2 separate regions of the Homo sapiens genome follow, and region 2 is linked to region 1. The links are contacts of gene promoters, found by promoter capture Hi-C in human tissues and cell types (Jung and others, 2019). All regions are on one chromosome and are shown on one strand. Each heading gives the region's core, a stretch centred on a gene start or on the middle of the fragment in contact. The rest is flanking DNA. Distances are from core to core; before and after follow the strand shown.

Region 1 (5,125 bases), core at 1,783-4,282:
AACATATATATATGGAGAACATATATATATATGGAGAACATATATATATATGGAGAACATATATATATATGGAGAACATATATATATATGGAGAACATATATATATATGGAGAACATATATATATATGGAGAACATATATATATATGGAGAACATATATATATGGGGATATATATATGGGGACATATGTATAGGGAGAAAAAATATATATATAGGGAGAATATATATGTGTATATATATATATGCATATATATATTATCTCAATGCTGACCCTTCTTCAGTATTTCCCTGTAATGATTTAATTCCCTGATGGAGCTTAACTTTTCACAATTGAATTTCATGCCTATTTCCCCGAAGTTAGTTGTAAGCTCTATTTCCTTAATCACTGGGAAACCCTGGCCAAGAGTGACATTTCCTGTTTCTCAATCTCTTCCATTGTTTTCAGTTCTGGCTATTTCAATCCCTAAGTGAAAGTTTGCCTCAGGATTCTTTTCTCTCTATAAATGGGAAAGGGAAAGAGGTGCTTTCTGGCTGTAGATACTGTAAGCTAAACAATGATGTGAAAGAGATAAACATCTAGGTTACTTAAGAAATCAATTATGAAGTAACCAATCAAAGATTGGTAGAAGGTCCAGGATCCTTTCAGAGAAGAATGGAGAAAATGTGAAATATGAGCTGAGGAAAGTGCGATGCTTGTGCTAGAAGTTCTTAACTGTTTCAGACAATACCGAGCTGTGTGATTCAGTTCAATCACCCTAAACTTTGGGAAATAGAGGATTCTGAAGTTTTCTGAACTCAGAGAGGTACATTTTCTGGGTGGAAATCAAAAGAGGAGCATTAAGTATTCAAAAGACAAATTTGAGAAGCAATAAGTAAGACTGTTGGAAACAGTATAGGACCCCAGTGTGGCACAGAAGGATGCTTCAGCGGGAGAAGCACAGTGCAGAGGAGGAAATACGGGTCTTTGCCCTAGACACTTCACTCTCAAGTCTCTGACTTGTATGCAGCCACAGGACATACTTTTGGATTTGTGCTATTTTCTTAATTAAAATAGTCTGGAGGCATATATTCATGTGTGGAAAGAAAAGGCAGAGAAAATTGTGAGGAGGCAGAAAGCAAGGAATAAAGAAAAGAAAACAATCTTCAAAGGAAAGTCTGTAAATGAAGAATAGTAGCAAAACTGATGAGCTTTTGAATTTCTCCACTTAGGGTATCAATTCCTTGTTTTTCCACAAAAGTTTATTTTTGAGGGGGTGGTACCTCTCAATTCTTGTATTTGAAACTGACAGTGAGAAATAACAGTGAGAAAATTATGACAGTGAAGGAGATCTGACATAACCAACCCCCATCATGCTTTTAACTTCCATATTGCCTTTGGTCATTCCTGGGCTTGGGCCAAGCTAACTTTGGGAGAAATTTAGGGTATGGTTTAAATGATAATAACCCTTCACCAAAAGTAAACCACCTTGGTAAAAATAATGAAAGACCACCAAGTTAGGAGTTTGAGAGGGTCCTGAATTCTGCTAAGATGTAGGCATAGTAAAATGATTACTAGCCATGATTCTGGAGGTCACAAGATTTGCAACTTCCCCAGTGACTACTGTAAATAACATCACTATTGTATAAGCTAAGATTGACCTTCAGAGATGTCTGTTCAGGCTTTTGCATTTCTGATGACCAGTGACTACTCTGTGGCTCCCACCCAGAAATAGACTCAGTGCATACACGAGGACCATTTTTCACATGCCTGTGATTTTATTCCCAACCAATCAGCAGCACCTATTCCCCTAAGCCCTTTGCCCATCAAACTAACCTTGAAAAACCCTAGCCTCCAAATTTTTGGGGAGATTTGAATAATAACTTTGAATCCTCTGTGGCATGGCTGGCTGGCCCTGTGTCAATTAAACTCTTCACTGCCATGCCATGGTTTCAGTGAATTGGTTTTGTCTGTGCAGATCAGAGATTAAAGTCCAGGGTCAGGTCCCATTAAGAAAAAAGAACTAAAGAACAATTCCAAACTACTTCATTTAGTGCATCTCTAATCCTCTTTGTGAAGCTATTTTTTATTCAAAGTTTCCATCATTTTTTTTGGAGATGACATTTAGCTCTTGTTACCCAGGCTGGAGTGTAATGGCATGATCTTGCCTCACTGCAACCTCCACCTCCTGGGTTCAAGCGATTCTCCTGCCTTAGCCTCCCGAGTAGCTGGGATTACAGGTGCCCACCACCACACCCAGCTAGTTTTGTTTGTTTGTTTTTGTATTTTTAGTAGAGACAGGGTTTCATCCTCTTGGCCAGGCTGGCTGCAAACTCCTGACCTCAGGCGATTCACCCACCTCGGCCTCCCAAAGTGTTGGGATTACAGGCTTGAACCACCACACTTAGTGATGTCCCCCTTTTACTGAAAACCACTTGTAAACAATTGCAAGCATGTTTGTCTTGAGTAAGCATTAGGAGTTAGAAGTAGAATTATCAACTTGCTTTATAAAGTTTCCAGCCTGGCAACAAAGCAAAGACCCTATCTCTACATAAACTAAAAAAATTACCCAGGCATAGTGGCGTGTGCCTGTAGTTCCAGCTGCTTGGGAAGCTGAGATGGGATGATTGCTTGAGCCCAGGAATTGGAGGCTGCAGTGAGCTAGGATCACGCCACTGTGCTCCAGCCTGCGCTACAGAGCAAGATCCCATCTCTTAAAAAACATAAAATAAAATAAAATAAAGTTTCATGGAGGGGGCAGAATTTACTATAAAAACTATTACAATCTCTTTCAGCAATTTATTAATTTTACAAATCACCCAAAGGAAAGCAAATGGAATTATAAGTTAGTAACAGCTATTGTCATTGACTTTTACTGCTATTAGCAATAATAACAAATTGGCCTTATCATTTATTTTTCAGGAAAAAAAAAAAAACACAGTTCTCCATGGTTCCCAAGGTTTAACTTTGCAAAATCTGACTAAAAATCTCCCAGAATATTCAGTCTTACCTTGTGATCTTGTTTTGATTTCTTCCCTGAAGAGCTGCAGCTCTGTGTTCGGAGGAGTCTGTAGACTCTTTTTATTAGCCAAAGTTTGGCAGAGACCCAAATTGCCTTAGAAGGGAGATCTGGGCGGGTGAGATTTTAGCAGGCTTGAAATCTCATGTAAAGAGCCAACAGAGTTACAATTCTGTCAACATCTAAGGCTCACTACTTTCTGCGTCCTCCCTCCATCTGAATATTTTAAACCAGCAATTATGATTCTTCTTCTGCCCCTAAACTTTATGTTTTGGCTCTCTTTGGAGTTGAACTCCTAAACTTCAACTTCAGCACTGTCCATTTTGAAATTCTGTTGCCATTTATATATTCACTTTTGGCCGTTGGCTTCTTAATTTACAAACTTCATTAAGAGATCAGTGTATTCTTCCAAATTCCTTTATAATAGAAATTTGCGACCCCCTTTGGCCTATCAGTAATAAGCAGCTCGTCTGCAAATAAAAGCTCTGAAATACTCTGTATTCCAACATATCTGACGGGCTTTCCTGCTCCCCACTGTTCATCTTTTCTTTCTATTCATCTCAAAAATCTCGCAGAAGATAATACTTTATCACAAAAGCAAATCCTGTACTATAGATCCCATGAGAAGTTGTTCTTCTTACCTCATGAGAAATTTTGCTCCTACTCACCCTCTCTCCATCTCGTTTGGCATCTGTAGCAGAAAATAAAGGGATGAAGTAATGCTCTTTTAAGACTTGGACTGATTCCACATCCTAAGATCACACATTGGAAGGAAGACTGCTGCTGTACTTAGAAGGATATTGTGATGGACTGTTACCCTAGCAAGCCTCTACATCCATTCAATCTACAAGATTAGAAGGGTGACCTTGAAACAAAGGGGCAGCAGAAAAAAGTTTACTGTAAAATGAAATAGGAATTTTTTAGTTTTTCTCATGGCATGTTGAAGGATAGAATGTTAGGGTTCTGGAATCCAGGGGAAAGAGAAAATGAGACAGCAACAGATGGCTGACCAGGCTTGGGAAAATGTGACTATGATGGAGTCCCCTTTGGAAAAAACAACTAAGGAACTCTGTTATCTTGTTTAAAGTTGTTTCATTTTCTGTGCAGTAATCCCCTTTAATCATCCCCAAACCTGAGCAATCATCTGCTACAAGCCATAGTGTTGCATTTGTGAGTAATGAAGAAAGATGGCTATGTCTGCCCTTTGGATAAAGCAGTGAAGCAAGCGGACAGGATGCCAACATGACAAGAATGAATCAGGAATTGAGCTGTGTGCAATAAATAGGAGGGAGGGGTGACAAGTAACAGCCAAGGGAATATTAGCATACTCTACTCTGGGAATTCTTGCAAATACTGAGGAAATTACAAAGGATGAATAATGTATCTTTATTATGTATATTGAACCCTCCTTCATTATTTCAAAAATTTCTCTTTTTATCTCTAATTATGCTTCATGCCTTAAAGTCTGCTTTGTCCATTTGTCTGCTTTCTCCATTAGCAGAGCTTTGCAAACATTCTTTTGGTTAGTATTCACATAGTGTATCTCTTTTCATCTTTTTTCTTTCAAACTTTCTGTGTCCTTACATTAAAGATGTGTCACATATAAGTAGTATACTGGTTTTTTTTCCCAGTTTGACAATAATTTGTCTTTGAACTGGAACATCTATTGTAATTATTGATATATTTGAATTTGCTTCTACTATCTTACTTTTTTTCTCTGCTATTTTGTCCCCCTGGCTTATGCTCTTTTTTGGATAAAACAATTATTTATTTATTTATTTATTTATTTTGAGATGGAGTCTCGCTCCGTCGCCCAGGCTGGAGTGCAGTGGCGTGATCTCAGCTCACTTCAAGCTCCGCCTCCCAGGTTCACACTATTCTCCTGCCTCAGCCTCCTGAGTAGCTGGGACTACAGGCGCCCGCCACCATGCCCGGCTAATTTTTTGTATTTTGTAGTAGAGACGGGGTTTCACTGTGTTAGCCAGGATGGTCTCGATCTCCTGACCTCGTGATCTGCCCCCCTTGGCCTCCCAAAGTGCTGGGATTACAGGCGTGAGCCACTGTGTCTGGCCTGGATGAAACAATTTCTAAAAATTATTCAATTTTCTCCCAGCAGTCATGAACTATAAC
Region 2 (5,125 bases), core at 1,960-4,459, 62 kb after region 1:
TTGTCAAGGATTTTTCCATTAATAGTCATAATGTTAAAAGGGTTAACATTGACATTAAATAGTCAAAATATTAAAAGGGTTTTTTAAATCCTTGACAAAATATCAGCAAAATGAATTTTATGACATAATGTTCTTTTCTTGTAGTGTCTTTGACTGGCTTTGGTATCAGAGTAATGCTGGCCTTATAGAATGAGTTAGGAAGGGTTCCCTCCACAATTTTTGGGGGATAGTTTGAGAAGGATTGGTATTCTTCTCTAAATGTTTGGTGGAATTCATCAGCAAAGTCATCAGGTTCAGGGCTTTTCCTTGTCAGAAGATTTTTCATTACTAATTAAATCTTTTTACTAGTCATAGGTCTATTCAGATTATTTATTTCTCCTTGATTTAGTCTTGGTAGGCTTTCTGTTTCAAGGAATTTGTCCATTTCATCTAGGTTATCCAATTTGTCAATACCCAATTGTTCATAGTACTCTCTTATAATCCTTCCTATTTCTGTAGAATTAGCAGTAATATCCCCACTTTTGTTTCTGATTTTAGTAATTTGAGTGTTCTCTCTTTTTTTCTTAATACAACTAACTAAACATTTGTCAATTTTCTTAATCTCGTCACAGAACTAACTCTTGGTTTTGTTGATTTTTCTCTTTATTTCTATTCTTTATTTTGTTACCTCTGCTCTAATATTTATTATTTCCTTCTTTCTGCTACCTTTGAGTTTAGTTTGTTCTTCTTCTTCTTTTCTTTCTTTTCTTTTCTTTTTTTTTTTTTTTCAACAAGATCTCACTCTGTCACCCAGGCTGGAGTGCAGTGGTGCAATCATAGCTCACTGCAGCCTTGACCTCCCAGGCTCAAGCAATTCCCCAACCTCAGCCCCCTGAGTACTGAGACCACAGGCATGTGCCGCCATGCCTAGATAATGTTTGTATTTTCTGTAGAGATTGGATTTCACTATGTTGCTCAGGCTGGTCTTGAACTCCTGGGCTCAAGTGATCTGCTTGCCTTAGCCTCCCAAAATGCTGGGACTACAGGCATGAGCCACCACACCCAGCCTGTTCTTCTTATTCTAAACTTGTAAAGTTAGGATGTTGATTTGACATTTTTCTTGTTTTTTAATGTAAACAGGTATAGCTATAAATTTCCACCCACAGACTACTTTTGCTTTGTCCCATAAGATTTAGCATGTTGTGTTTTCATTTTTATTTGTCTATAAGTATTTTCTAATTTCCCCTGTGATTTTTACTTTGGTTGTTTAAGAGTTTGTTGTTTAATTTCCACAAATTTATACATTCTCCATTTCACTTCGGTTATTGATTTCTAACTTTATGTCATTTGGTCAGAGAAGATACTTTGTATGATATCCATCTTTTAAAAATCTATTGAGACTTAATTTGTGGCCTAACATATGATGTATCCTGCAAAATGTCCCATGTGCACTTGAGAAAAGTTTGTATACTGTAGTTGTTGGAGAGAGGATTGTGTATATACCTGTTAGTCTGGTTGGTTTATTGCATTGTTTAAGTCTTCTGTTTCCTTGCTTATTTTCTGTCTGGTTGTTCTCACCATTATTGCGAGTTGGGTATTGAAGTCTCCAACTATTGTTATAGAACTATCTCTTTTTCCCTTTCATTCTGTAAGCTTTTGCTTTATGTGTTTTGATGGTCTGTCCTTAGATGGGTAAATGTTTATAATTGAATATCTTCTTGCTGTGTTGGGTCTTTTATTAATATATAATGTCCTTCTTTGTCCACTATAGCCCTGTAAGTTTATTTCGCCTGGGAGCAGTGGCTCATGCCTGTGCTCCTAGCATTTTGGGAGGCCGAAGCAGGTGGAACACTTGAGCCCAGGAGTTCTAGACTAGCCTGGACAACATGGTGAAATGCCATCTTTACAAAAAAATACAAAAGTTAGCGGGGCATGGTGACGCTTACCTGTAGTCTCAGCTACTTGGGAGGCTGAGGTAGGAGGATTGCTTGAGCCTAGGAGGTCAAGGCTACAGTGAGCCAAGATTGTGCCACTGCACTCCAACCTGGGTGACAGGGTGAGACCCTGTTAAAAAAAAAAGTCTATTTTGTCTGATATTATTATACCCACTCCTACTGTGTTTTGGTTACTATTGGCATGGAATATTTTTTCCATGCTTCCACTTTTAATCTGTTTATATCTTTGGATCTAAAGTAAGTCTTTTGTAAACAGTAAATAGTCAGACCATGTATGTATCCATTCTGCTAATCCCTGTCTTTTGATGGTAGAGTTTAATCCATTTGCATTTAAAGTATATACTGATAAGGAGAAACTTAATTTTTTTCATTTTGCTATTTGTTTTTTATGGCTTATAGCTTATTTGCCTCTCATTTCCTGCATTTATTGACTGTCTTCTTTCATGTTTAGTTGATTTTTTGCAGTGAAATTTTAAAATTTCTTTCCATTTCCTTTTGTGTACATTCTTTAGCTATTTCCTTTATGGTTTAATGGGGATTGCACTTAACATCCTAAAGTTATAATACTCTAATTTGAATTTATACCAGTTTAACTTCAATAACATACAAAACTCTGTTTCTTTACAATTCTGTCCCCACCTCTTTCCGTTGTTAATGTCATAAAATTACATCTTTTTATATTTCATGCCCCAAAACATAAAGTAATAATTTATTTACATACATTAGTCTCTTAAATTATCTAGAAGATTGGCCAGACATGGTGGCTTATGCCTGTAATCCCAGCACTTTGGGAGCCCAAGGTGGTTGGATCACCTGAGGTCGTGAGTTTGAGACCAGCCTGGCCAACAAGGTGAAACCCTGTCTCTACTAAAAATACAAAAATTAGCTGGGCATGGTGACGGGCACCTGTAATCTCAACTACTGGGGAGGCAGAGGCATGAGAATCTCTTGAACCCAGGAGACAGAGGTTGCAGTGAGCCGAGATTGCACCACTGCACTCCAGCCTGGGCAACAGCGCAAGATGCGATCTCAAAAAAAAAAAAAAAAGTAGAAAATAAAATGTGGGGTGATAACCTACAGTTCATATTTGGCAGTTTACTTTAAAAGTAAACAGGGCTTCTTAAATTAACCTATCTTGGGGCAGTCTTGTGATTCATGGCAACATCCTGTTCATGAGTAAAGAATCTTATCTGAGTTTCTCAAATTATTGACGTATAATGATTAATTTATAACCTACTGACATCAAAAAGGCTGCTGATTTGTTTCTGAATCATAATGTTTTGGTGATTTGTTTCTGAATCATGAAGTTTCACTGATTGTCTTGTGCATAGAATTTTAACCTGTATGTTGCCCTGTATGTCATACTTTGCAGCCAATCTTTGTGTTGTACCCTCCAATGAAAAAGGACAACTTCACTATGAGGAGCCCCTCTCCCTTCTCCTAAACTTACTTATAAAAGCCTTCCAACTTGTAACAGATTCTGGAACACTCCCAACTTTCTGATGTGTCTTCCCAGGTTGATCCTCACATTTGGCTTCCAATAAACCTTTATCAAATTATTTCTGCCTCAACAGCCTTAATTTCTGTCAATAGGAGTTACAAGCCAAAGTTAACAATAATACTAGCTTTTAGACTAATAGTTTTTAACGTATGAATCTCAAACCATGCAAAAAACAAAAAATGGAGTTACAAACCATTGTTACAATAATACTAGCTTCTATAATTGTCCATGTATTTACCTTCATTGAGATTTTTATTTCTTCATATAGCTTTGAGTTACTGTCTAGTGTTCTTACATTTCACCTTGCAAGACGTAAGCATTTCTTGCACGGCAGGTTTAGTAGTGAACTCACTCAGCTTTTGTTTATCTGGGAATATTTTAATTGCTTCCTCGCTTTTGAAGGAGAGTTTTGCAAGATAAAAGATTCTTGATTGACAGGTTTCTTTTTCTTTTCGCACTTTGAATTTATTAACCCACTGGCTTCTGTTTTCCAAAGTTTCTGATGAGAAATCTGATGATATTCTAATTGAGGATCTCTTGTAAGTGACAAATTGCTTCTCTCTTGCCACTTTCAAGATTCTGTTTTTGTCTTTGGTTTTCAAAAGTTTGATTATAATGTGTTTTTGGGTGAGTCTCTTTAAATTCTTCTTATTTGGAGTTTGTTGAGTTCTTGTATGTTTATGTTCAAGTCTGTCATCACATTTGTGAAGCTTTCAGCCATTATTTCTTAAAATATTCTCTCTACCCGCCTCTCTCTCTAATCTTCAGAGACTCCCAAAATGTATATGATGGTGTCCTACAGCTTATCTAGGTTTTATTTATTTTTCTTCGGCCTTTTTTCTATTCCTCAGACTCAGTGATTTCCATTGTTCTATCTTCACCTTTCACTATTTTTATCTTCTGGATGCTCAAGTATGTCTTTTAGTCCTTGTAGTGAATTTTTTATCTTGGTTTTATTTTTCCACTCCTTGCTTTCTTTTTGGTTTATTTTTAGGTTTTTCTGTATCATCATTGATTTTTCCATTTTGTTCATGTATCATATATTTTTTCTGGTCTTTCTTCACATCTTTCTTTAGAATATTGAGCATCTTTAAGACATCTGTTTAAAAGTCTTCATCTAGTATATCTGACATCATATCTTTTTCAGGGATGGTTTCTGTTGATTTATTTTTTTCTTTGAATAGACCATACTTTCCTGGTTTTTGTTTTTTTTTTTTGTATGTCTTGTGATTTTTTTTTGGTTGACATTGAAAACTGGACATTTGAATCTAAAAATGTGGTAAATCTGGAAATCAAGTTCTTCTCCTTTTCCAGAGTTTGCTAGATTTAGTCATTGTTTTTGTTTACTCTTTTTTATTGTTGTATGTCTGATATATATAAACTTAAGGTCCTTTCAGGTCTTTTCTGAGCCTGAGCCTTTCCCTGGGTATGCATGGTCACTTTCTAATTTCCCCCTCTATGAAGTTGTTTCTGAAAGTCCTAGTCTTTAACGTCTGGTTCCCAAAAGGGAATCAAAAATATTAAGGGGGAAAAATGGCCCTGGTCCTTTGAATCCCCTGGAAGTCATCTCAGATGGATGGGAGGGGCTTGCAAAAAGGGTAGAGGTGAAACAATAGCTGTTCACTTCTTTGTCTGTACCACTGTGATCAGAAGCAGTGATTGGCAATCCAAATACAGATCCCCAATATTT

Evidence for each region. Contacts are between HindIII fragments. The study calls those that stand out against the background at their distance.
Region 2: a contact is called between a fragment that was not itself captured here and the fragment with the promoter of IL33 in region 1, in 1 of the 25 tissues and cell types used here (liver).

What each region holds. Positions count from the first base shown.
Region 1 is chr9:6,213,714-6,218,838 of GRCh38, reverse strand. It overlaps IL33 (interleukin 33), which reads right to left and starts at 3,032. Exons shown (of 8, transcript NM_033439.4): 1 at 2,987-3,032. The HindIII fragment of the contact is 11,056 bases long and covers 1-5,125 here.
Region 2 is chr9:6,151,656-6,156,780 of GRCh38, reverse strand. No RefSeq gene overlaps it. Among named protein-coding and RNA genes, the nearest start is that of IL33, 62 kb to the left of the region's middle. RefSeq lists an enhancer at 2,896-4,095. The HindIII fragment of the contact is 5,106 bases long and covers 657-5,125 here.